Regions from separate parts of the Homo sapiens genome. Here regions 1, 2, 3, 5 and 6 are each linked to region 4. The links are contacts of gene promoters, found by promoter capture Hi-C in blood cells and fetal thymus (Javierre and others, 2016). All regions are on one chromosome and are shown on one strand. Each heading gives the region's core, a stretch centred on a gene start or on the middle of the fragment in contact. The rest is flanking DNA. Distances are from core to core; before and after follow the strand shown.

Region 1 (3,592 bases), core at 595-3,094, 280 kb after region 4:
AGTCGGGCGTGGTGGCACACGTCTGTAATCCCAGCTACTTGGGAGGCTGAGGCAGGAGAATCACTTGAACCCGGGAGGCAGAGGTTGCAGTGAGCCGAGATCGCACCCCTGCACTCCAGCCTGGGTGACAGAGCCAGACTCCGGAAGAAAAAAAAATAAGAACCTTCTTTTCAACATTTAATATGTGCCAAGAACTATGCTAAGCACTTTACATATATTGCCTTCTTGAATCCTCAAAACAATGCTATTGATATGCTAGGTGGGTATTAGCCCCATTTTACAGATAGGGAAGCTGAGGCTCAGAGAGGTAACAGGACTTGCTCAGGGTTCTGCAGATGGTGAGTGATGAGGTCTGTCAGCCTTGTTGAAACTGGCTGAAACAGACAGGGTCCTCTGAGCTGTGGCCCCTCTGAATCCCAGGGCCACAGAGCAGGGGGCCCAGTCACCCTTCCTCCTTGTCCCCAGAATATCCTGCGCCAGACAGAAGAGGGGTCCAGCCGTCAGGAGAATGCCCAGAAGGCCCTGGGTGCTGTCAGCAAGGTGGGCAGTGGGGAAGCTGAAGCAGGGGGAGGTGACAAGGTGGTAGAGAGAAATGGTAGGGAGCAGGGGGCTGGCCGCTGGGGTGGTGACACAGCTCCCCTTACCTAGATCATCGAGCGTTGCAGCGCTGAGGTGGGGCGCATGAAGCAGACTGAAGAGCTGATCCGGCTCACCCAAAGGCTGCGCTTCCACAAAGTCAAGGTACATCGCTGCCCAGGCTCCCCATCTTGCCCTGCCCCATGTTGCTGCTGCCACGCTAGAACCTCCTCTGCCTCCGCTTCCTCGCAGGCCCTGCCCCTGGTCTCCTGGTCACGGCGCCTGGAATTCCAGGGAGAGCTGACTGAGTTAGGGTGCCGGAGGGGGGGCGTGCTCTTTGCCTCGCGCCCCCGCTTCACCCCTCTTTGCCTGCTGCTCTTTAGCGACCTGCTGCTCATCACTCAGCCTAAGAGGTGAGTCCTAGGGAAGGAAGGAGCCCAGGCTGGAGTGGGCAGGAGGGGTCCAGCGGGACCCCTGCTGTCCTTCTGAACGACCTCATCCCTGGGCAGTGGGCAGCGGTTACAGGTTCTGGACTATGCCCATCGCTCCCTGGTCCAGGCCCAGCAGGTTCCGGATCCATCTGGACCCCCTACCTTCCGCCTCTCCCTTCTCAGCAACCACCAGGGCCGCCCCACCCACCGACTACTCCAAGCTTCTTCCCTGTGAGTTGTGTTTCCCTCAGAAAACAACCTTGGGACACTTATCTGACCTCTCAGACCTCCCCCACTTCCCCAGTCTCTCTCTTCTGTGGCTCCTGCCTCAGCCCCAGAGGATCTTTTGGGCCAACTGTGACACTTCCCAATATCCCCACCAGATCAGACATGCAGCGCTGGCTGGGAGCCTTCCCAACCCCAGGCCCCCTTCCCTGCTCCCCAGACACCATCTATGAGGACTGTGGTGAGTATCCCCCTAGAGGGGATGAGGGAAGAAAAAGCGAGTCTTAGAGGAATATGGGGGAGAAGCTAAACAGAATCACTTTAATGTCACCCACCCCCAACCAGACTGTTCCCAGGAACTGTGTTCAGAGTCGTCTGCACCTGCCAAGACTGAAGGACGGAGTCTGGAGTCCAGGGCTGCCCCCAAACACCTGCACAAGACCCCTGAAGGTGAGAAAGTCTTTCATTTATTTATTTTGTATTTATTATTATTATTTTTTGAGACAGAGTCTCATTCTGTCAGCCAGGCTAGAGTGCAGTGGTGTGAGCTCGGCTCACTGCAACCTCTGCCTCCTGGGTTCAAGGGATTCTCCTGCCTCAACCTCCCAAGTAGCTGAGATTACAGGTGCCCACCACCACGTCTGGCTAATTTTTGTATTTTTAGTAGAGATGGGGTTTCACCATGTTGGCCAGGCTGGTCTCGAACTAACCTCAGGTGATCCGTCCCCTTTCACCTCCCAAAGTGCTGGGATTACAGGCATGAGCCTCTGGTGCCAGGCCTTATTTCTATTCTTTTTTTTTTTTAATGGAGGTGGGGGGTCTCACTATGTTGCTCAGGCTGGTCTTGAACTCCCGAGCTCAAGTGATCCTCCTGCCTCAGGCTCCCAAAGTGCTGGGATTACAGGCGTGAGCCACTGCGCCTGGCCGTGTTTCATTTATTCATTCAATAAATATTTATTAAGCACCTACAAAGTGCCACTCGCTGTTCTAGGGACTGTGAATCAAATATATCACACTTCCTTCCTTGCTGGAGCTACGTTCTAGCAGAGGAGGCAGACGATAAAGAATGAGCAAAATAGATAAGTAAATTATAAAGTACATGTGAAGGTTATGAGTGTTATGGAAAAAAAAAAAAGTGAGCAGAGCAAAGAAGGTCAGGAGTTCCAGGGTTGGGCAGACTGAAATTTTCAATAGGGAGGCCGAGGTGGACCTCACTGAGAAGGCAACATGAAGCTTGATGGAGCTAATTTAGGCCCATGGTGTCTGGGGGAAGAGTGTCCCAGCTGGAGGCAGCAGGCAGTGCAAAGGCCCTGCGGCTGGTGTGTGACTGAGGAACTGTAAGGAGGCCAGTGTGACTAGCAGGAGAGAGAAAGGGGGAGAAGCAAATGAGGTCATAGAAGTGGCAGGGATGGGATCACGCAGGACCTGACAGGTCTCTGCAAGGACTCCACCTCTTACTCCAAGAGACATGAGCAGCCACTGCAGGGCTTGACGGAAGAGCAGCCCAGACTCTCTCCGAGCTGCTGTCACCTCCACTTCTGATGCCCTTTCTACCGATGCTCCAGGCTTGTCCATGAATTCCCACACCTACAATGACCCTGAAGGCCTGAGACCCCACGAGGCCCCCTTTGCCTCCTCACCTGCTCCCTGCCCCCACCTCATTGGAGCCTCTGTCTCTCTTCCCCCAGGTTGGCTGAAGGGGCTTCCTGGGGCCTTCCCTGCCCAGCTGGTGTGTGAAGTCACAGGGGAACACGAAAGGAGGAGGCACCTTCGCCAGAACCAGAGGCTTCTCGAGGCTGTTGGATCTTCTTCAGGCACCCCCAATGCCCCCCCACCCTAATGCAGGCTGAGGAGGGGGCACATGTTGGGAGACACCTACCAGTGTGGCACGGAGAGAACAAAGCCCATTCATCCATTGGATTCACTGTCAGTGGAGATACTACCTCTCGTGGCAACCATAGAGATCGAGCTTCAGGACAGAGCAGCCAATGAAAACGGCCGCCTGAACCCACAGCAATAAGAATGAATGAGGATGCCTTGAATGTGTGGCCAATGGAGACAGAGGCTTAGTGCAGAGCAGCCAATGGGTACTGAGCTGGCTGAGCCTATGGCCAATGAGTATTCCTGCTATGCTCAGGGCCAAGGAAGACAAATCTAGGTCATGGCAGTTGAAAAAGGGCCTCATTGGAGATAAAGTCGTAGGATAAAATTGGGAACAGGAATGAGCAGGAAGCCAATCAGCCAAAGAAAATGGTGATCTGGACCCAAGAGACCAGTAGTCACCCTGCTTGTTTCTGCAGCAATGACTGGTCCTGTCTTTTGAGTCTGGGAAATACTAGTTTCCATTCCTGGATGCTTCC
Region 2 (4,079 bases), core at 469-2,968, 390 kb before region 4:
GCACCCGGCTAATTTTTTTAGTTTTAGTAGAGACGCAGTTTCACCATGTTGGCCAGGCTGGTCTTGAACTCCTGACCTCTGGTCTCGAACTCCCTTGCTCAGGTGATCCATTGGCCTCGGCCTCCTATAGAGCTGGGATTACAGGCATGAGCCACTGGGCCTGGCCGAGATAATGATTTTTTTTTTCTCTCTTTTTTTGAGACGAAGTCTCACTCTATTGCCCAAGCTGGAGTGCAATGGCGTGATCTCAGCTCACTGCAAGCTCCGCCTCCCGGGTTCAAGCAATTCTCCTGCTTCAGCCTCCTGAGTAGCTGGGACTACAGGCACCCACCACCATGCCCAGCTAATTTTTTTTTTTTTTTTTATTGAGACGGAAGCTCTGTTGCCCAGGCTGGAGTGCAGTGGAGCGATCTCGGCTCACTGCAAGCTCCGCCTCCCGGGTTCATGCCATTCTCCTGCCTCAGCCTCCCAAGTAGCTGGGACTACAAGCTCCCGCCACGACGCCCAGCTAATTTTTTTTTTTTGTATTTTTAGTAGGGACGGGGTTTCACTGTGTTATCCAGGATGGTCTCGATCTCCTGACCTCGTGATCCACCCACCTCGGCCTCCCAAAGTGCTGGGATTACTGGCGTGAGCCACCGCGCCTGGCCTAATTTTGCATTTTTAAGTAGAGACGGGGTTTCACCATGTGGGCAAGGCTAGTCTCGAACTCCTGACTTCGTGATCTGCCCGCCTCGGCCTCCCAAAATGCTGGGATTACAGGCATAAGCCACCGTGCCCGGCTTGAGATAATGATTCTTAACATGTGGTATGTAGAGCAAGTGTACTCCCGCCCTAGACTGTGAGCCCCGTGAGAGATGTGGCTTCAGTGTAACCTCTCTGGCCTCCCCAGGGCTACAGCACACAGTCTATAGAGGTGCTCAATAAATGTTTGTTGACCCAAGTAGACACATAAGGAGGTGAGTTCCGACGTGGGGGTGGGGGTGCCAGGAGGCAGAGAACCGAAGTAGACCTGGCTGCAGGGCTGGGATCTCAGGGCAGTGCTGGGGACTGGGAATGTGGTGTTGAGAGGGCTTCAGGGAGACGTGATGGGAAGATGGGGAAGCCTCTGCACGTGGACAGAGCCAGGTGGTGTGGACAGGGGCTGTGAGATTGGAGAAGGAGGCGTCTGGGGGACTGGTAGCGGCTCCCAACAGGGGAACGTCCCTCTGGGGGTGGCCTTTATCCATCTCTGCGGGGCCTGTCCTAGCTTCCCTCCTGGCTCGGCCAGCCTCCCGGCTGGTCTCTTCGCTCTCTTTCTTGATCTCTAGCTCTTTATTCCTCTGACATTCTGCCCCATCTGCTCCCGGACTCTTCCGCCGCATCTGTATCTTAGTCTCTTTCTAACTCCCTGCCTGGGGCCCCCACCTTTGAGCATATATCGGCTTCTCTCTCTGCCGTTGTGTTTCTCTGGGGTTATCTTTCCCTCTACTCCGCCCGGACACGCCCTCTATCTCTTCCTCCCACCCTGTCCCAGTCTAGTACCTGGGGTGGGGGTAATGGAGAGACAGCTAGGTCCCTAAGAGAAGTCAGGGGGGCGGGCCCAACCTCTCCATATTTACATATGTATGAGGTCGCCTGGGCCAGTGGCGAGGAGGCGGAGCTTCTGGGGGTGGGAAGGGGGCGGGCACCCCCAGAGCCGCAGAGTATAAAGACCGCGCTCGGCGACCGCGGGCCTCGCACTGCTGAGGAGCGGAGCCTCCGCCTGGGGGGCCCCCCATCCCTGGCTGTCCCCCAGCTGCGCGTCCCCGCCCCACCCCCGCGGCTGAGCCACCACCGGTGCAGTGGTCTCCGCTTGGCGGAGCGAGCCTTGAGCTTCGTTCCACAGCTTCTTTGCATCTTGGATTTCGGGGCGGCCCCCTCCCCCACCTCTCTCTGCCTTTTTGTACCCCGCTTTTTTTCTGCGTTCTGCTCGGTTTTTGTAGCCGTCTGTTTTTGCACCCCATTTCGTTTTGTTTCTAGACGGTTTGGTGGGGGGTGAAGCTGCATTCATACCCCTTCCTCTTGTTATTCTCCCCTGCTCTGACAGCACCCCTTTTCATCGCAGTTGGGGGGCCTAGGATCGGTGCATCTTCCGCCGCGCTGCCAGCACCCCGCAGCGCGTGGTCGTGCACCCCGGAATCTGCAGCAGCTGCATATCTGAGGGGGGTCTCCTTTGCCCGCGCCGCCTTCGCTCCCCGTGCTTTTGGGTGTGTGGAGGGCTTCAGCGCGCGGCGCCCCCGCTTCTCCGCAACCCCCCGCCCCGCGCCCGGACTCGCCCCGCGCCACCAAGATGGTCATCCAGAAAGAGAAGAAGAGCTGCGGGCAGGTGGTTGAGGAGTGGAAGGAGTTCGTGTGGAACCCGAGGACGCACCAGTTTATGGGCCGCACCGGGACCAGCTGGGGTACGCAGGGCCGGCACGCAAGGGGCGGGGGAAAGCCGCGGGGCGACGCCTCGGGGGCGCAGGGTCCCGCCGACGCGGCCCCAGCTCCCCTCCCGGGTCCCCGGCGTCCAGCCTCCCTGCCGGGCTCTGGGCTGGGAGGGGGCCGAATCGCCAGTCTAATCTCCCCGGCTGGCCGTGCGGAGGCGGAGAAAGTAGGTCACAGCCGCCTTCCCGCCCCCCGCGGAGCCCCCTCGGGCGGGGGGTCGCCAGCTCCGCCTGCGTGTCCGCGCCGGCGCTCACACTCCCTCTCGGGGCCTGTCCGCTCCACACGGGCGTCCCCCACCTCCAAAGAGCGCCCCTTCCCTCCCTCCGGCTCTCACTAGCTCCGCAGCCCCGTCTATTTTTAGCTCGTGCCCACCCCCTGGACCCTGGGAACGTTCATGAGGGGGCGGGTCTTGGGGGGTGTGTTAGGGGGGTTCTTCACGGCGGAAGTTGTCTGTATCCCACCGCCTGGCCTTGGGAGCCTTCTGGGACTGCTTTGTGGGTTGGGGGGCTGCTGATAGTATGAGTTTTACCGAGGCTGCAGGTTTTGCTCCCATGTCGGTGACGGAGGGAGGAGTGGTCGCTGTGGTGATTTGTGTGCATCAGCCAGCCAGGTGTCTGTGACAGTCGGATGACTTGGAAGCCTCCCCAGGCTGACCATGGCAGGACTCAGGGAGCTGTAGTGGTCGGGGGTTGGGGGGGTGGAGGGGGTCTGGTGACCGGCACAGGTGCAGGTGAGGGGTGGAATTCTTCCAAGAGGGATGGTCAAGCTGGGACGTTGAGACACAGGGGACAGAGGACACTGTGTGACACGATTTACAATCTTTCCACACTGGGCACCGTCCCCATCAGTCCACCCATTCGGGGCCTACACGAAGTGGGTCCCATGCAATCCATTCCCTCAGGGAACTCAAACTCCAGCCCCTGGGATGAGAAGAATCCAGCAATGCTTGGGAGAGCCAGAGGACTTCATGGAAGAAGTGTCCTCTGAGATGGAAGGATTGGGAGTCCAGGGTGGTGGGAACAGCCGGCCCTTGGGTCCTTACTTCAGGCGGGGGAGCCATGGAGAGATCCCACCAAGGGAAGGCTGTGGGAGATTCTGCCTTTCCTCCCTGCCTCTGCCCAGGGTGCTGGGTGTGAACTGAGGGTGGGGTGACTGTTGAAGGTTCTAACAAGCCGTCTCTGAGAGATTTGTAGCTAGGCTAGTGTTAGGTCTTTCATTTCAGGAACTGTGTTCAAAGTTTGGCTTCTGAAGGGCACCAGGAGAGAGATGTTGCTATTCAAATCTGAGGGTCCAGTCTCTGCGGGGTGGTATGAGGGTTTGCTTGTGAATGGTGGCCAGTACCCGCTTTAAAAGGCACCATGCTAGCACAGCTTTAAGCATGAGTACGAATGCAGAGGTAACAGATGTGTGCCTTGTCAGGACTATGCATGGTTGAGAAGTTGGAAATGTAATTGGAGGCAAAATAACAGACCTCCACAAGGTCGGGCTTCACTGTGCCCTAGGACCAGGAGGGGGCTGGGAGTCATGGCTAGAAGCCAGACACAACTGCCTGTTTCCAGTTTGTCTCATTTTGCCTCCAGAGGAAGGCTCTAAGACATCCCTGTGGCTCTGTGATCAGTCCCAGTGCAGAA
Region 3 (3,942 bases), core at 899-3,398, 270 kb before region 4:
CCAAAGTGCTAGGATTACAGGTGTGAGCCACCACGCCCTGCCAAAATTAACCATTTTGAAGTAAACAATTCGTGACGTTTAGTAATTCATACCACATCTATCTAATTCCCAAACATTTTTATTACCCTAAAGGAAACTCTGCCCATTAGCAGTCACGTGCATCCCCCGTCCCCCGCCCCAGTCCCCCGTCCCCCGCCCCAGTCTGTTATGAGCCTGTTTTCCATGTGTATGATTCCCCTATTCTGGACACTTCATACAAATGGAACCATTTGTATGATAATACGTGGCCTTTTTAATCTGGCTTCTTTCGCTTAGCATAATGTCTTCAAGGTTCATCCATGGTGTGGCATGGATCAGTACTTTTTTAAATGGCTGAATATTCATATTTGAATATCGCATGAGTTTACCACATTTTGTTTACCATTCACCAGTTGATGGACATTTGGGTTGTTTCCACCTTTTAGCTAAAGGGAGTAGTGCTGCCATGAACACGCGTGTACTTGTATTTGTCTGAACACCTGTTCCCTATTCTTGTGAGTGTAAGCCTAGGGGTGGAATTGCTAGATCATATGGAAACTCTATGTTTAACTTTTTGAGGAGCTGCCAAGCCATTTTCCACAGCAGCTGCACCGTTTCACATTCCCACTAGCAGTGTACAAGTCTCCCTATTTCTCCATATCTCCGTGCCAACACTTATTTACCTTTTTTTTTTTTTTTTTGGTTCTAGCCATCCTAGCGGGTGTGAAGTGGCATCCCACTGAGGTTTTGATTTGCATTTCCCTAATGACTCATGACATTGAGGATTTTTTCATGTGCTTGTTCCTTGATAAGCTCTTAAGGCAACAGAGTGGAGAAAAATATGTGGACTGAGGAGGCCGCTGTATTATCTAGAGGGGAAGCTTCACAGAGCGAGAGCAGCGAAGGGCCTGGGCGTCCGTCAGGGAGGAAGAGGGCAGGTGCCACTTCATGCAACGCGCCTTTCTGCCCTGTAGGAGCTCGATGCCCTCCAGCAAATCTGGGAGATCGCACGAGACTGGGAGGAGAACTGGAATGAGTGGAAGACTGGCCGGTTCCTGATCCTGCAGACGGAAACCATGGAGACCACGGCCCACGGGCTGTTTCGTCGCCTCACAAAATTAGCCAAAGAGTATAAGGTGGGGAGAAACGGCGGGGAGGCGGAAGAGAAGCTGGTGGAGGATCTGGGTCTGTTCCCAGGGAGGTCGTCGGGTCTTCTCATGCCCCCAACTTTTGCTCAGGACCGAAACTGGGAAATTATTGAAACCACTCGCTCAAAAATAGAGCAGTTCAAGAGGACCATGCCTCTCATCTCAGACCTGCGGAACCCTGCCCTTAGAGAGAGGTGAGGCTTCTCCTCTGCTCCGGGGTGTCCACTCTGCCCCGCTGGCCTGCGCCACCACTTGGTCCCTCCCATTCTCCTCTCCGCAGTGTTCACAGCCCTCTCTTCCCCTCTGTCCACAAATGTATGTCTTTTTCTCTTTCCTCTTTTTAACATTTAATTTTGATGGACGCATGAAAATTGCATACACTTTGGTGTACAGCATAATGTTTTGAAATATGTACACATTGTAGAATGGCTAAATTGAGCTAATTATCATATGCATTACCTCACATACCTATTTTTTGTAGTGAGAGTACTGAAAAGCTACTCTCAGTGATTTTCAAGTATACAATAGATTGTTATTAACCATTGTTGCCGTGATGTACAGGAGATCATCCCTCTTGTCTAACTGAAATTTTGTGTCCTTTGACCAACACCTCCCGAACTTTCCACCTACCACCCCCAGCCCCTGGTAACCAGCACTCGACTCTGCTTCTGTGAGTTCAACCTGTTCAGACTTTACATATGACATATGAGTGCGATCATGCGGTGTTTGTCTTTCTTCGCCTGGCTTATTTCGCTTAGCATAATGTCCTCCAGGTTCTTCCATGTTGTTGCAAATGACAGGATTTTCTTCTTTCCTGAGGCTGAAGAGTATTTCTTTGTATATATACACCACATTTTCATCCTCCATTCATCGCTTGATGGACACTTAGGGTGATTCCACATCTTAGCTATTGCAAATAGTGCTCAGCGAACATGTGGCGCAGACACCAAGCCTGCCACTGTCCTCTGCTTCTTGCACTGTCTCGGGTCATCCAGCCTTGCTGGCTTCTTGTTCTCTGACCCCTGCCCTGGGGCCTCCCTCTCTCTGAAAGGGAGTTGTCTATCATGACTAAGTCTTATGTCTTTTTTTTTCCTTTTTTTGTGGGGGAGACAAAGTCTCACTCTGTTGCCCTGGCTGGGGTGCAGTGCTGTGATCTCGGCTCACTGTAACCTTCACCTCGCGGGTTCAAGCAATTCTTGTGCCTCAGCCTCCCAAGTAGCTGGGATTACAGGCACCTGCCACCATGCTCTGCTAATTTTTGTATTTTTAGTAGAGATGGGGTTTTGCCATGTTGCCCAAGATGGTCTTGAACTCCTGGCCTCAAGTGATCCGCTCGCCTTGGCCTCCCAAAGTGCTGGGATTACAGGCATGAGCCACCGTGCCCGTCCCGCCTTATGTCTTTTGTTATACAAAAGATTTTATTTTGAGGTAGCCAGAAGTATAACTTTCTTTCTGTATGGTTTTTGCCTTTGTGCCTTGTTTAGGAAGACCTTTCCTATCCCAAAGTTACAAATACATCCTCTTCATTCTTTCCTCTAATGCTTTGTGTTTCTCAGGTTTAACTCTTTTAATTCATCTGGAATTTATTATATGGCAGAGGATGTATCTCAAACCATTGGGGATAGATTTATAAAAATAAAGTAATTTTTATAAATGGTGTTTCAATCATGATCTATCCATTTAAGAGAAAATAATTTTACTTCTTTGTCTTTCTTCCAGTATAACGTTTTTGGCAATGCCAAACCATTAAGTGTTATACGGTTATGTATAACCTAACCACTTTATTTGCTTACATTATTTAACCTCTCTAAGCCTCAGTTTTCTCATCTGTAAATGGAATAATAATAATTCCTAATTTATAGAGTAGCCGTGAGAATGATATGAGATGTTTCATGTAAGGCCTTTACTCAGTACAGTTCTAGAGTAAACCTGCGGTGATTCATTGTGTGTTTTGTGGGCACACCTGCCTTAACTTCCTCTCCAGAGAATCCACTCCTGGAGGGTTTCACCTCAATCTTCGTATTCCCCTGGTGCCTAAGATTGCATCTTCGAGCCTGTTTAGCAAAATGAGTTGAATCATGAATTGGTAACTATGCAGAATCATAGTGTCCCAGTGGGAGACAGCAATGGAGTGATGGTAACTCTCCTGACCTCACACCCTCCTGTTCCTGGCTGCAGGCACTGGGACCAGGTCCGGGATGAGATCCAGCGGGAGTTTGATCAGGAATCTGAAAGCTTCACCTTGGAGCAGATTGTGGAGCTTGGGATGGATCAGCATGTGGAGAAAATTGGGGAGATCTCTGCTTCAGCAACTAAAGAGCTGGCTATAGAAGTGGTACGACAGTCCCCTCCCATGCTCCCACACCTCCTGCGCCTCCTGGAGCACAGGCTCCAGCTGTTCATCATCTGATGGCGCCTCTCAGCTCCTGTTCCCCTTAGTGAAGAGATACCTGACTGCTGTGTCCCCCAATTTCTCTCCACAGGCTTTACAAAACATTGCCAAGACCTGGGATGTGACTCAGCTCGACATAGTACCCTACAAGGATAAGGGCCATCATCGGCTCAGGTCAGGGGAGCTGGGGCTCTAGGAGAATGGAGGGCTGTGTGACCCAGGCTGCAGAGTGGGACCAAGGTTGGGCAGGTGGGGATGAACTATGATTTTGACCCCTTGTGTCTCAGAGGTACAGAAGAAGTATTCCAGGCACTGGAAGATAACCAGGTAGCTCTGTCTACCATGAAGGCATCACGCTTTGTCAAGGCCTTTGAGAAGGATGTG
Region 4 (3,814 bases), core at 517-3,016:
GTTCTGAGATTACAGGTGTGAGACACCATGCCTGACCATGATCTCATTCTTTTTCATGGCTGTATAGTATTCCATGGTATATATGGAATATACATGATAAGTCACTCTCACTTCAGTTGGCTTTCATGAAACACTGTGACAGGCACAAGAGGACAAAGTGTCTGCCGGCATCGTTCTCCTCCTACCTCATTGACTGAACTTTGCTGCTTCCACTCCTTTGCATGACTTCCAAATATCAGAGGACCTTAGGGCACAGCTTGTGCCTCTTCTCTTCTCTACTTATAGGATATTCTCTGCCTAGTGATCTCCACCAGCCTGTGGTATAGATGTACCTGTGTGCTTGTGACTCAAAGATGCACACCTGCAGTCCTGAGCTCTATGCCCAGACGTGGGTTCTCCACTTGGATGTCTAATGGCCATCTCAAACTTAGCATCTCCAGACCGAAAACCCCAAATCTGTTATGTTATTCCCCCAAAGCCCAAATCCATAACTTCCCCTTGGCATCTCTCCCCCAAATCCCTCCCTCACTGCACTCTTGCCTTTCCCTCCTCCAACAAGCCAAGCTTTTCCTAACCACAGGGCCTCTTCAGGAACAGTTTCCTCTGCACAAAACTCTGTTCCCCAGACAGATCCTTTCACCTCCTCTGAGGCTCTGAACGCCTCCCTTCCCACCTCTGCTTCTCACTCCTTCACATTAGTCTGTTTCATTTCCTTCATTGCACTTATTATCATCTGAAATTATGTGTTGGTTTACTTATTTTCTCTCACACTTGATTTTTTTTTTTTAGACCGAGATTTGCTCTGTCGCCCATGCTGGAGTGCAATGGCACAACTTCACCTCACTGAAACCTCCGCCTTCCGGGTTCAAGCTATTCTCCTGCCTCAGCCTCCTGAGTAGCTGGGACTACAGGCGCCCGCCACCACGCTTGGCTAATTTTTTTGTATTTTTAGTAGAGATGGGGTTTCACCATGTTGGCCAGCAACTGTGCCTGGCCTCACACTTGATTTTTAATCTCCATGAGAGCAAGCACTAGGTCTTGCCTGGGCCTTTATCAATAGCAGTGAGCATAGCACCTGGCACAGAGGTAGTTCTGAACATTAATTATTGAATGAAATAAAATAATGAATGTAGGCTGGGCGCGGTGGCTCACGCCTGTAATCCCAGCACTTTGGGAGGCCGAGGCAGGCGGATCATGAGGTCAAGAGATCAAGATCATCCTGGCCTACATGGTGGAACCCCGTCTCTACTAAAATACAAAAATTAGCTGGGCATGGTGGCACTCGCCTGTTGTCTCAGCTACTGGGGAGGCTGAGGTAGGAGAATCACTTGAACCCAGGAGGAGGAGGTTCCAGTGAGCCGAGATCATGCTGCTGCACTCCAGCCTGGCGACAGAGCAAGCCTCTGTCTCAAAAATAAATAAATAAATAAATTTTAAAAATAATGAACGCAGGCCCAAGAAGAGTTGTGGGAAATGGGGTGATATTTTTGCATAGACTTCTAAGGCTAAGAAGGAAAACAAACAGACGTGGTGGGCACAAATCTACCCCCACCCCAACTGGGTCCCAACTCTAGGCTCTCTGGCCTGGCACCACCACTGAAAGGCCCCGTTCCCCAAACCTCAGGGTATTCTTAGTCCCTCCTGTTCCCAGCGCTGCCAATCCCCCGCCCACCCCCACTTTAGTTGCGTGTTCCAGCCTCTCCGCCCCGCCCCTCCCCGCCCTGAAACGGACGTGCTTTTTAGAGGAGTCCACTGGGCTTGGAGTCAGTGGCAATAACCAGGGGCAATAACCAGGCGTGTCCCAGGGGGGAGCCCCGCTCTGCAGCCCTGTGCGCCGTAGAGAGCTGGACTTAGGCTGGCAGCATGGCCGAGTTCAGGGTCAGGGTGTCCACCGGAGAAGCCTTCGGGGCTGGCACATGGGACAAAGTGTCTGTCAGCATCGTGGGGACCCGGGGAGAGAGCCCCCCACTGCCCCTGGACAATCTCGGCAAGGAGTTCACTGCGGGCGCTGTGAGTGCGTGGGAGTGGATGGGGTGGAGGTGAAGGGGGCGAGCAGGAGGGTCCGGCCTGACGCATACTTAACCTCCCCTCAGGAGGAGGACTTCCAGGTGACGCTCCCGGAGGACGTAGGCCGAGTGCTGCTGCTGCGCGTGCACAAGGCGCCCCCAGTGCTGCCCCTGCTGGGGCCCCTGGCCCCGGATGCCTGGTTCTGCCGCTGGTTCCAGCTGACACCGCCGCGGGGCGGCCACCTCCTCTTCCCCTGCTACCAGTGGCTGGAGGGGGCGGGGACCCTGGTGCTGCAGGAGGGTACAGGTGAGGGGCGGGCCGGGCTGGGGCTGCAGGGGGAGCACAGGAAGGGGTAGGGGACTGGGGGTTGGGGAGAAGGGCAGGTGAAATGGAGAGGTGAGCTGGTGTGGCCACAGAGTAGCGGGCAGAGGAGAGGGAATGGCGGAGCCTTGGGGAGCGGGAGGTAGCAGCCTGGTGTAGGAGAAACTGTACTTATGGGAGGAGGGGACCTGGTAGAGGGTGGCAATCGTGGAGACTGTGTGGCTGGTGGTAGTGATGGTGAGTTTCTCTCCCCACCCCAACCTACTCCCCTTCTCCCACAGCCAAGGTGTCCTGGGCAGACCACCACCCTGTGCTCCAGCAACAGCGCCAGGAGGAGCTTCAGGCCCGGCAGGAGATGTACCAGTGAGGAGGGGGTTACTGATGGGGGAGGGTGTGCCCAAACGATGAGGGGCAGCTTGAGTGTCCTGGTCATGACAGAGATTAAAAGCCCCTGCCTCCACCTCTCCTATCAAAGCTGCTCCTGGGATCAGCAGCGTCTACAGGAACGTATTAGAAATGCAAATTCTCAGGCCACCTCCAACCTACTACGACACTGAGGGTGTAGAGTGGGAATTTTTGTTTTGACAAGCCTTCCAGATGACTCTGGTGGCCACTGATGTTTGAAAAACACTGCTCTAGGGCCAGGTGCCGTGGTGGCTCACACCTGTAATCTCAGCACTTTGGGAGGCTGAGGGAGGCGGATCACTGGAGGTCGGGAGTTCGAGACCAGCCTGGCCAACAGGGCGAAACCCCATCTCTACTAAAAATACAAAAATCAGCTGGGTAGGGTGGCGGGCACCTGTATTCTCAGCTACATGGGAGGCTGAGGCAGAAGAATAGCTTGAACCCGGGTGGTGGAGGTTGCAGTGAGCCGATCACGCCATTGCACTCCAGCATGGGGGACAGAGCAAAACTCCATCTCAAAAAAAGAAAAAAAAAAAGGAAGGAAGGAAAAGGAAGGAAAGAGAGAAAGAAAGAGAGAGAAAGAAAGAAAGAAAGAAAGAAAGAAAGAAAGAAAGAAAGAAAGAAAGAAAAGAAAGAGAAAGAAACTGCTTTAAATGCCTTACCTTTGCTGGTGTCTTCCTTGCCCTGGGACTTTTTCATGCATCGGCTTGTTGTGTCCTCCCAGAAATCTGAGTAGAGCCAGAAACACGCCCTTCAAGCCCCAGGAAACTCACCCTCCAGGGCTAGCAAGGGGTGAGATGGGGGCTCTCTCTGTGCTCTGGGCTCAGCATTGGAGATCACAGGGGAAAACTGGGACTTGGAGATAACAGAGGAGTTGGGGCCGCTAGTGAGGATTCCCTTGGCACAAAGCCAGGAACTGCATTCAGAAACAGATTTTCAAAAGATCTTGATCCGGCCAACTCATCTGCTATCTAAAGCCTGGGCTGCAGGCTTTTGCTCCTGGTCTGTGGGATCAGAGCAGCCACAGGCTCATTTGGTTCCTGGTGATTCTCCATGTGTCATGAATTCCACCCCTAAGGAA
Region 5 (4,068 bases), core at 35-2,534, 330 kb before region 4:
GGGACCATTACTCAGCTCTGAGGGGAGCAGGAGCACTCTCCTCCGCTCCCCGGGGCTCCCCAGGAGGCAGACAACCCAGTTGCCAGAGTCAAGGACACACATAAAAGAGTAAAGGTGTTGAAAAATACAGTCGTCACCTTTGATATTGCTGTTCCATGCGGGGCGCGGCGAGGGTCTTATTCATTCAGCGGCTGTCGCTGGGCTTGTTTCTCCATTTGTCTGCTCTGTCTTTGGGGGTGGGGGACGAGTGTGTCATTTGAAGCAGTGACTCCTCCCTCCTCCCCCCAACACCTTCCCAAACACTGAGAATGGGGGGACTTTGAAGAAATACTGCCAGCAGGGGATGTGATTTTGGACCTCACAATCAAAGGGAAGGGACGAAAGGCCTGGGGAGGCTTGAGAGGGAGAGGAATGTCACCCCTGCCCAGAGGTGCTGAAAGCCAGGGCTCTTACACCCGAAAAGGCAACTCCTCCCTTCCCCCAGGATAATTGGAAACAGCCCTTCCTGCGCAGCGCCGGTTTGGGGTTGTAGGTACGCCCCTTCTTCTCCCAGCCCCGCTTCTCCCCCCAGCCATCTAGGAAAGACCCAAGTGTATCCCCTAAACTCTTGTTTTTCACTAACCCCCAGGTAACAACAGCACTTGGTCCATGGAGCAGTGACAAAAGAGACCCCAAGAGTGGGAGGTGCGCAGCCTGGGTTTGGTTTCTAGCTTTATCCCAGACTTCCTGTGTGACCTTGGGCAAGTCACGGGGCCTCCCTGAGCCTCAGTTTCCTCATCTCTGCAATGGGATCGTTAGCTCTGCCCCTCCCACTTCACACAGGTAGTCGTGACGATCAGCTCCGCCGCACTTTGTAAAGCGCCAAGCCTTCAAGGTTATTATTATTCTCTCCAAACCTGCCGGGAGCAGCGGTGTTGTTTTGGGATGGAGGAGGAGGCTGCGGGAGCGAAAGGGGTGGGTTCCTCGGGGTGGAGAGGGCGAGAGCCTTTCTGGATTCGAGAGAGGAAGATTCCAGCAGCTTGGGCGATCGGAGGGCAGGAGGGGAGCCGGGCAGAACTCAGCCGGAGCCAGAGGCTCGGAGAGACAAAGGGGGCGTGACAGCCCGCGCCGGGGGCTGAGGCGGGGCGGCGGGCGGGAGGTGCGCGAGGTGAGGGAGGTGTGGGGGGCGTGGGCCGCGGGATGCTGCCGCCCGCTCCGCCTCGAGCTCCAGCTCCGGTTTTTCCCTCCACCATCCTCTGCCCCTCCCCGCCTCTCCTTTAACTCCCCCCTCCTGGGCTCGGGACTGGTTTCCTCCCTTAGCCCGCTGCCCTCAATCCCAGCGAGGCTGGGGCTCCGGCTCGGCGCCCCCTTCCTCGCTCCCTGGTCCGGCGCCCCATGCCGCCCCCGCCCGGTCCCCGGCTCCCCCAGTCCCCCACTTAGGCGGGCTCACAGATCCCGGGGTGCTGGCGCGTGGGCCGGGGGCGCGTAGGGCGCCTGCAGACGGCCCCTGGAAGGGCTCTGGTGGGGCTGAGCGCTCTGCCGCGGGGGCGCGGGCACAGCAGGAAGCAGGTCCGCGTGGGCGCTGGGGGCATCAGCTACCGGGGTGGTCCGGGCTGAAGAGCCAGGCAGCCAAGGCAGCCACCCCGGGGGGTGGGCGACTTTGGGGGAGTTGGTGCCCCGCCCCCCAGGCCTTGGCGGGGTCATGGGGCCCCCCCATTCTGGGCCGGGGGGCGTGCGAGTCGGGGCCCTGCTGCTGCTGGGGGTTTTGGGGCTGGTGTCTGGGCTCAGCCTGGAGCCTGTCTACTGGAACTCGGCGAATAAGAGGTGAGTGGCCTGCGGCTGGGGAGATCCCAGACCCTAGGGCAGTGGGTAGGGAAGCTCTGGGGGCTTGGAGGCGGGCTTCTGTGGGCAGGGAGGAGGCGGGAGGGAAGGTGCTGGTGCTCTGATGTGTGATGGGTTACTAGACAGGTGATCTTGGGAGCCAGACTCCGGGTCCCACGCAGAGCTGGATGCGGGTGGTGCTATGGATGTCAGGAGTTTGGAGACCCCAAAGGGGCAAGGAGAAGAAAGTTCATGGGTAGCCGGGAGGGCAGTGAGGTGGGTATTTGGATCTGTGGGAGGCCTGCGTCGGGGGCTGGGCTTGGAGGGAGCCTGGTTACTGTCAGCTCTCAGGAGAGAGCTGCAGATTAGGTGCTGCGAGTCGCTGAGGGGAAGGCAGGGCAGGGTGCCTCCCTCCCCCAGAGGGACTGCGCATCCGAGATGGGAGGCAAGGGGGTTCCGTTTGGGGGCTCTGGGGACAACTTCCCCAAGGCTCCTTGACTCTCTTCACAGTCTGTCTCCCAACTCTTCCCCACAGCCAGAGGGTCAGTGAACTGTTGGCTGAACGATTTCCCAGCCAGAACATATTCCTGCCTTCCTGGCTTGCCGGCATCTTGCTGGAAGAAGCCTGGAGCCCCCTGAACCCTCCTTCCTTCCCTTTTGCATCTGGAGGACTCCATTGCCCCCTCCCCCAATCTTTGCTGCAAACTCTTCCATCAGACCCTCTGTTCCATGGCATGCCAGCTTTGCTCTGAAAAGAGGCCAGGGGTCAGATGAAACTTCAAGCCACGCTGGGTAGGACAGAACCTTCGGGAGGTCACCTGGGTCCCTTGCCTACATGCGGATCCCACTTCCCGCTCATAAAAGAGTTCTGTGTTTTGAAAAATTCCTACTTCCCTGGGGAGACTGTGTGAGGCCATGGGAAGGGGGTGGGCTTTGGAGCTCATCAAATCTTTGGTCTTAATCCTAGCTCTGCCGCTTTCAGCTGTGTGGCCTTGGGCATGTCACTTAACCTTTCTGAGTTTGTATCCTCAATCCTTACAGCTATTATGAGGATTAGCGGTAAGGTGTTTGAATGTATTATGTGCTCATTAAAGGAGAGCTAGGATTATTGTTCCTCTCTTTACTTCCCAGCCTCCCTCACACTTCTCTGCTCTGCCATCCCTCCCTCTCTTTTCCCTGGATCTCTTTGGGTATAATCTCAATGTCTTTTCTGTACTCAGTCACCCACCTGCCAACTCCCAGCTGCAATGTGAGTATCAGGTGTGTAGCTTGAGAACATAAGCTTGTTTTCACAGGGTAGAGAAAAGGGAGTTAGGGTGTCCTGGGGGCTCTTTCGGATGTGGGGTGGGAGTGGGACACTTGGGAGTCTGGGAAGATATCAAGTAGCAGTCCCCTGGGACCCAGTCCTGAGACCCTGTCTCAGCAGCTATTGATGTCCAGGAAGGGGCTGCAGGGGTTGGCAAGTTGTGGCTGTGCTGGGACAGTGGATGCCTGGGTGCACTGGCCAAGGAGATGGTGAAGTGTGTTGGTTGTGGTTAGAAAAGTCAACTCCTTTCCTTTCCAAAGCAATAGAGCACTTGCCCCAGAAGTCTAAGACCCAGTGTGGGATTCTGAGTGGGAGAATGACTCAGGCAGCAGGTTCCTAGACCCTGGTTCCCATCAGCCCCAATGATGGTCGTGGCCAAACCAGGCATTTGCCTTCTGTGCTATTAGCTGGCTAACTTAGGACACTGGTCTGGACCACCCTCCACACAGCCCCTCCCTGAACCGCCGCCCCCTTTGCCCGGAAATCCCTGAAATTCAGTGGTGGCCTGAAGGAGGGGAGGCTCTGCCCGCATGGTTGGCTGCCATGGAATAGTGAAATCACCTGGGAGGGGTGGGCTGTGTGGTTCCAGAGAGGCCAGCTCCTTGGTAACTGGCATCCTGTTGCCATGGCAACGGGGCTGGTGATGGAGCGGGAGATGGCGGTGTGCATGTGGTGAGGGCGGGCTGAAGAGTGGAGTGCATTTGGGCACACCAAGGGGCAGGAGACCCCTGAGCCTGGCTTCCTGCTGCTTCCAATGTGAATGCACAGAGTCCTTGGTGCCTGCTCTATAAGAAGAGACTTTCCACTCAGACAAAGGCGGGCAAGCGTGAGCTGAGAATTGCTGTCCTGGAAGGTTGTGGGGTGAGGGAAGGAAAGTTCTGGGGGCCAGGCCTCTGACATCTCTTCCTTGTCCACCTTACCCTCCTCCCCATAGGTTCCAGGCAGAGGGTGGTTATGTGCTG
Region 6 (3,711 bases), core at 1,181-3,680, 290 kb before region 4:
TACTGCCTGACCACTTGTTTGGAGATAAATTATGAAGTATTTTTAAAAAGTCATCCCCCAGACAGATTTTTATTTATTTATTTTTTTGAGACAAGGTCTCACTGTGTTACCCAGGCTGGAGTGCACTGGTGCAATCTTGGCTCACTGTAGCCTCCGCCTCCCGGGCTCAAGCAACCCTCCCACCTCAGCTTCCTGAGTACTGGGAACACAGGTGCCTGCCACCATGCCCAGCTAATTTTTTCTATTTTTGGTAGAGATGGGTTTTCACCATGTTGCCCAGGCTGGTCTCGAACTCCTGAGTTCAAGCCATCCACCCACCTCAGCCTCCCAAAGCGTTGGGATTACAGGCCTAAGCTACCTTGCCCAGCCTCGCCACACAGATTTTTTTTTTTTTTTAAAGAAAAACTGATATTTGTCAATGAAATAAAATTTGCATTCTGGAAATTTCTTGACAAACTTCAGTTAAAGACTGAACATCATTCAAAGTTTCTCCCAGGATTTTCAGCTCAGCATCAGGAAGGTATTGTCTGAATTCATCCTGTTGACTGACATATTAAACTTGGATAATTTGCCTTAAAGTTATCTTGAAAATCTTGCCTTGGCCGGATGCGGTGGCTCGCATCTGTAATCCCAGCACTTTGGGAGGCCGAGGTGGGTGGATCACCTGAGGTCAGGAGTTCGAGACCAGCCTGACCAACATGGAGATACCCTGTCTCTACTAAAAATACAAAATTAGCCGGGCATGGTGGCAAGCGTCTGTAATCCCAGCTACTCAGGAGGCCGAGGCAAGAGAATTGCTTGAACCTGGGAGGCAGAGGTTGTGGTGAGCCGAGATTGCGCCATTGCACTCCAGCCTGGGCAACAAGAGCTAAACTCCCCCCCAAAAAAAAAAAAAAAAAAAAAAAAAAAAAAAAAAAAAAAAGAAAGAAAAAAGAAAATCTTGCCAAGATGAGAGAATGAAGAATTTGTTTTGGTGCAATGTTGGCCAGCATACATGCCCAAGTAGGCTTGCTCAGATGTTTATCAACAGTGACAAATCCAAGACATCCAGTTTGAAGGACATGATAATACGTTTATGCTACTAGAAATGTTTCTGTATCTATTCACACACTTCCAATCTCCCCATATCATTATAACACAACTTTTTGTTACATTGATGTTTAGGGCTTATCTTATTATGACTCTATTAGGATTGTTCACTGCTGAGTTGAGTAATTTTACATTGTTATAGTTCTTTTGCTTGTACAATGTTTTGCTCAATTTGGAATTTAAAATTGCCTCATTATTAGGCCAGGTGTGGTGGCTCATGCCTCTAATCCCAGCACTTCAGGAGGCTGAGGTGGGTGGATCACGAGGTCAGGAGTTCGAGACCAGCCTGGCCAACATGGTGAAACCCCGTCTATACTAAAAATACAAAAAATAGCTGGGCATGGTGGCGGGTGGCTGTAATCCTAGCTACTCAGGAGGCTGAGGCAGGAGAATCTCGCTTGAACCCGGGAGGCAGAGGTTGCAGTGAGCTGAGATCACGCCATTGCACTGCAGCCTGGGCGACAGAGCGAGACTCTGTCTCAAAAAAAGAAAAATTACCTCATTATTATCGTTATTACTATTATTATTATTTGAGATGGAATTTCGCTCTGTTGCCCAGGATCTCTGCTCTGCTTCCCAGGTTCAAGCGATTCTCCTACCTCAGGTGATCCACACACCTCAGCCTCCCAAAGTGCTGGGATTACAGGTGTGAGCCATTGTGCCTGGCCACCTCATTATTTTTGCTAGCGCAGCATTCACTATCACTAAGTCCTCCAAACCAACCAATAAAATCCCTTTGAGTAGTATTTTTCCTCACAATCTGACATACTGGGTATTGGTTTCAATGTTTTTCTTAGATCTGTTTTTTTCCTGTCCTCCTGCTTCTGTCCAGCTGGTGTTGTTTTCAAGGCCTGTTACAAAGCAGTTACCCCGGGACTTCCCTCAGCCTCTTTCCTTGTTTGATTTCATGTTTCCTTTGTCTTCCTCTTTTTTGGTTTACGCCTTTGTTTTGTTGGTGTGTATCCATTAGTAGCTTCCTAAGAAATGGTGCAGGGGAGGTAAATCTTTTGAGTTTTTGCATGATTGACAACTGTTTTCCTGCCCTCTGCTTGTTGTACATTTGGCTGGGTTTGGAATTCTAGCCGATTTATAGTAATTGTCTTTGGCTTTGGCCTCTCTCTTTTACTTTGGAGGCTTTCCTTAAATGCCTGGTGATTCATTGCTCATTTATACTTTCAAGAGGCTTACTCACTTTGAAGATATTTTAGCAGTTTTAAAAATACCACATACGTTAGTGGAGATCTTCAGGGTTTGAAAAAACAGCATTTCTTCTTCCACAATCTCTTAAAGCCTGTATCACAAATAAGTGAGCACTTGAAAATCATTTCATTCTTGGAGGATTCTTCTCCAATAAAGACGGTAAAAACACAATCCTTTGCAAAGTTTGAAATGTGTTATTATCTCCAATATTGTTAATTCAGTGTAGAAAAGACTAAAAAAATTCTAGAATTTTCACCTCAATATTCTTTCCAAATAACATTTCAGCAGTATTTAGAATGCAAAGTTTCTTGAGCATATCTTCAGGTCGTGGGAATGTTTATCCTTTGTGATTAAAAAGTGCAATTTTATTTTAAAAGCCCTGCAGATTAAAAAAAATCAAGTTATTTATTTATTTATTTATTTATTTATTTATTCATTTTTTTTTTGAGGGGGAGTCTTGCCCTGTTGTCCAGTCTGGAGTACAGTGGCACCATCTTGGCTGACTGCAACCTCTGCGTCCTGGGTTCAAGCGATTTCTGGCTAATTTTTGGATTTTTAGTAGGGATGGGGTTTCACCATGTTGGCCAGGCTGGTCTCAAACTCCTGACCTGAAATGATCCACCCACCTTGGCCTTCTAAAATGCTGAACTTACAGGCATGAGCCACCACACCAGGCCAAGATTTTTTTTTAATTTTATTTTAAAAAATATTCCATATTTTCTTCTGGTATTTTATGATTTTATTCTCTACATTTAGATGTTTGATCCATTTGAAATTTATTTTGGTGTAGAGAAAGAGGTGCAGATTCAAATTGAGTTTTGTATTTCATTGTTTGTTTGTTTTTTCCTGATGGCTAGAGCCATCTCATTTAGAGTTGACCCAATCTCATTTAGTGAACTACTATCTTTATAGTAACACATTCCCGAGTATATTCGTGTCTATTTTGGGATTCTCTATTCTGGTATCTGTCTATTCATGTGCAGGAACCAAACTGTTTTAATTATTGTCCTCATTACTCTTCTTTCTTCAGAGTTTTCCAGGCTATATTTAATATTTATTTCCCATAAGAATTTTAGAATCAATTTGTTTAGTTCCAAAAATAGTCTCATTCCTATTTTTATAGGAATAGAGATTTGGTTAAATTTATAGGTTAACTTTAGAAGAATATCTTTATGATTTTGAGTCTTTCCAAGAATAGTTGTGGGGTGTGTGTGTGTGTGTGTGTGTGTGTGCGTGTTTTGAGACTGAGTCTTGTTCTGTCATGCAGGCTGGAGTGCAGTGACACGATCTCAGCTCACTGCAGCTAGGACCTCCCAGGCTTATTGATCCTCTTCCGCCTCAGCCCCCCAAGTAGCTGAAACTACAGGTGTGAACCACCGGGCCTGGCCAACAGTGTTTTTTCTTTCAATTTATTTAAGTCCT

What was found. Contacts are between HindIII fragments. The CHiCAGO score rates a contact against its expected background, and 5 or more counts as called.
Region 1: a contact is called between a fragment that was not itself captured here and the fragment with the promoter of ALOX15B in region 4, in 1 of 17 cell types (activated CD4 T cells). The highest score is 5.1, in activated CD4 T cells.
Region 2: the fragment with the promoter of ATP1B2 here is called in contact with the fragment with the promoter of ALOX15B in region 4 in 1 of 17 cell types (activated CD4 T cells); the score reaches 5.6 in activated CD4 T cells.
Region 3: a contact is called between a fragment that was not itself captured here and the fragment with the promoter of ALOX15B in region 4, in 2 of 17 cell types (megakaryocytes and endothelial precursors). The highest score is 6.2, in megakaryocytes.
Region 5: a contact is called between the fragment with the promoter of EFNB3 here and the fragment with the promoter of ALOX15B in region 4, in 2 of 17 cell types (naive CD4 T cells and activated CD4 T cells). The highest score is 7.0, in naive CD4 T cells.
Region 6: a fragment that was not itself captured here is called in contact with the fragment with the promoter of ALOX15B in region 4 in 9 of 17 cell types (total CD8 T cells, naive CD4 T cells, naive CD8 T cells and 6 more); the score reaches 8.5 in total CD8 T cells.

What each region holds. Positions count from the first base shown.
Region 1 is chr17:8,317,922-8,321,513 of GRCh38, forward strand. ARHGEF15 (Rho guanine nucleotide exchange factor 15) reads left to right here. Exons shown (of 16, transcript NM_173728.4): 10 at 466-540; 11 at 649-741; 12 at 829-989; 13 at 1,086-1,238; 14 at 1,391-1,473; 15 at 1,578-1,682; 16 at 2,921-3,592. The coding sequence ends at 3,072. Among named protein-coding and RNA genes, the nearest start is that of ARHGEF15, 9.5 kb to the left of the region's middle. The HindIII fragment of the contact is 1,237 bases long and covers 1,227-2,463 here.
Region 2 is chr17:7,649,208-7,653,286 of GRCh38, forward strand. It overlaps ATP1B2 (ATPase Na+/K+ transporting subunit beta 2), which reads left to right and starts at 1,719. Exons shown (of 7, transcript NM_001678.5): 1 at 1,719-2,423. The coding sequence starts at 2,312. RefSeq lists enhancers at 371-871, 872-1,372, 1,647-2,289 and a silencer at 1,629-1,778. The HindIII fragment of the contact is 15,564 bases long and covers 1-4,079 here.
Region 3 is chr17:7,766,908-7,770,849 of GRCh38, forward strand. It overlaps DNAH2 (dynein axonemal heavy chain 2), which reads left to right. Exons shown (of 86, transcript NM_020877.5): 23 at 993-1,154; 24 at 1,257-1,360; 25 at 3,345-3,501; 26 at 3,650-3,732; 27 at 3,846-3,942. Among named protein-coding and RNA genes, the nearest start is that of DNAH2, 51 kb to the left of the region's middle. The HindIII fragment of the contact is 2,502 bases long and covers 898-3,399 here.
Region 4 is chr17:8,037,293-8,041,106 of GRCh38, forward strand. ALOX15B (arachidonate 15-lipoxygenase type B) reads left to right here and starts at 1,767. Exons shown (of 14, transcript NM_001141.3): 1 at 1,767-2,010; 2 at 2,094-2,313; 3 at 2,610-2,691. The coding sequence starts at 1,864. The HindIII fragment of the contact is 10,323 bases long and covers 563-3,814 here.
Region 5 is chr17:7,703,918-7,707,985 of GRCh38, forward strand. EFNB3 (ephrin B3) reads left to right here and starts at 1,285. Exons shown (of 5, transcript NM_001406.4): 1 at 1,285-1,803; 2 at 4,041-4,068. The coding sequence starts at 1,682. RefSeq lists enhancers at 1-769, 1,663-2,554. The HindIII fragment of the contact is 8,602 bases long and covers 1-3,080 here.
Region 6 is chr17:7,748,427-7,752,137 of GRCh38, forward strand. The region is part of intron 12 of DNAH2 (dynein axonemal heavy chain 2); the gene reads left to right. Among named protein-coding and RNA genes, the nearest start is that of DNAH2, 33 kb to the left of the region's middle. The HindIII fragment of the contact is 7,689 bases long and covers 1-3,711 here.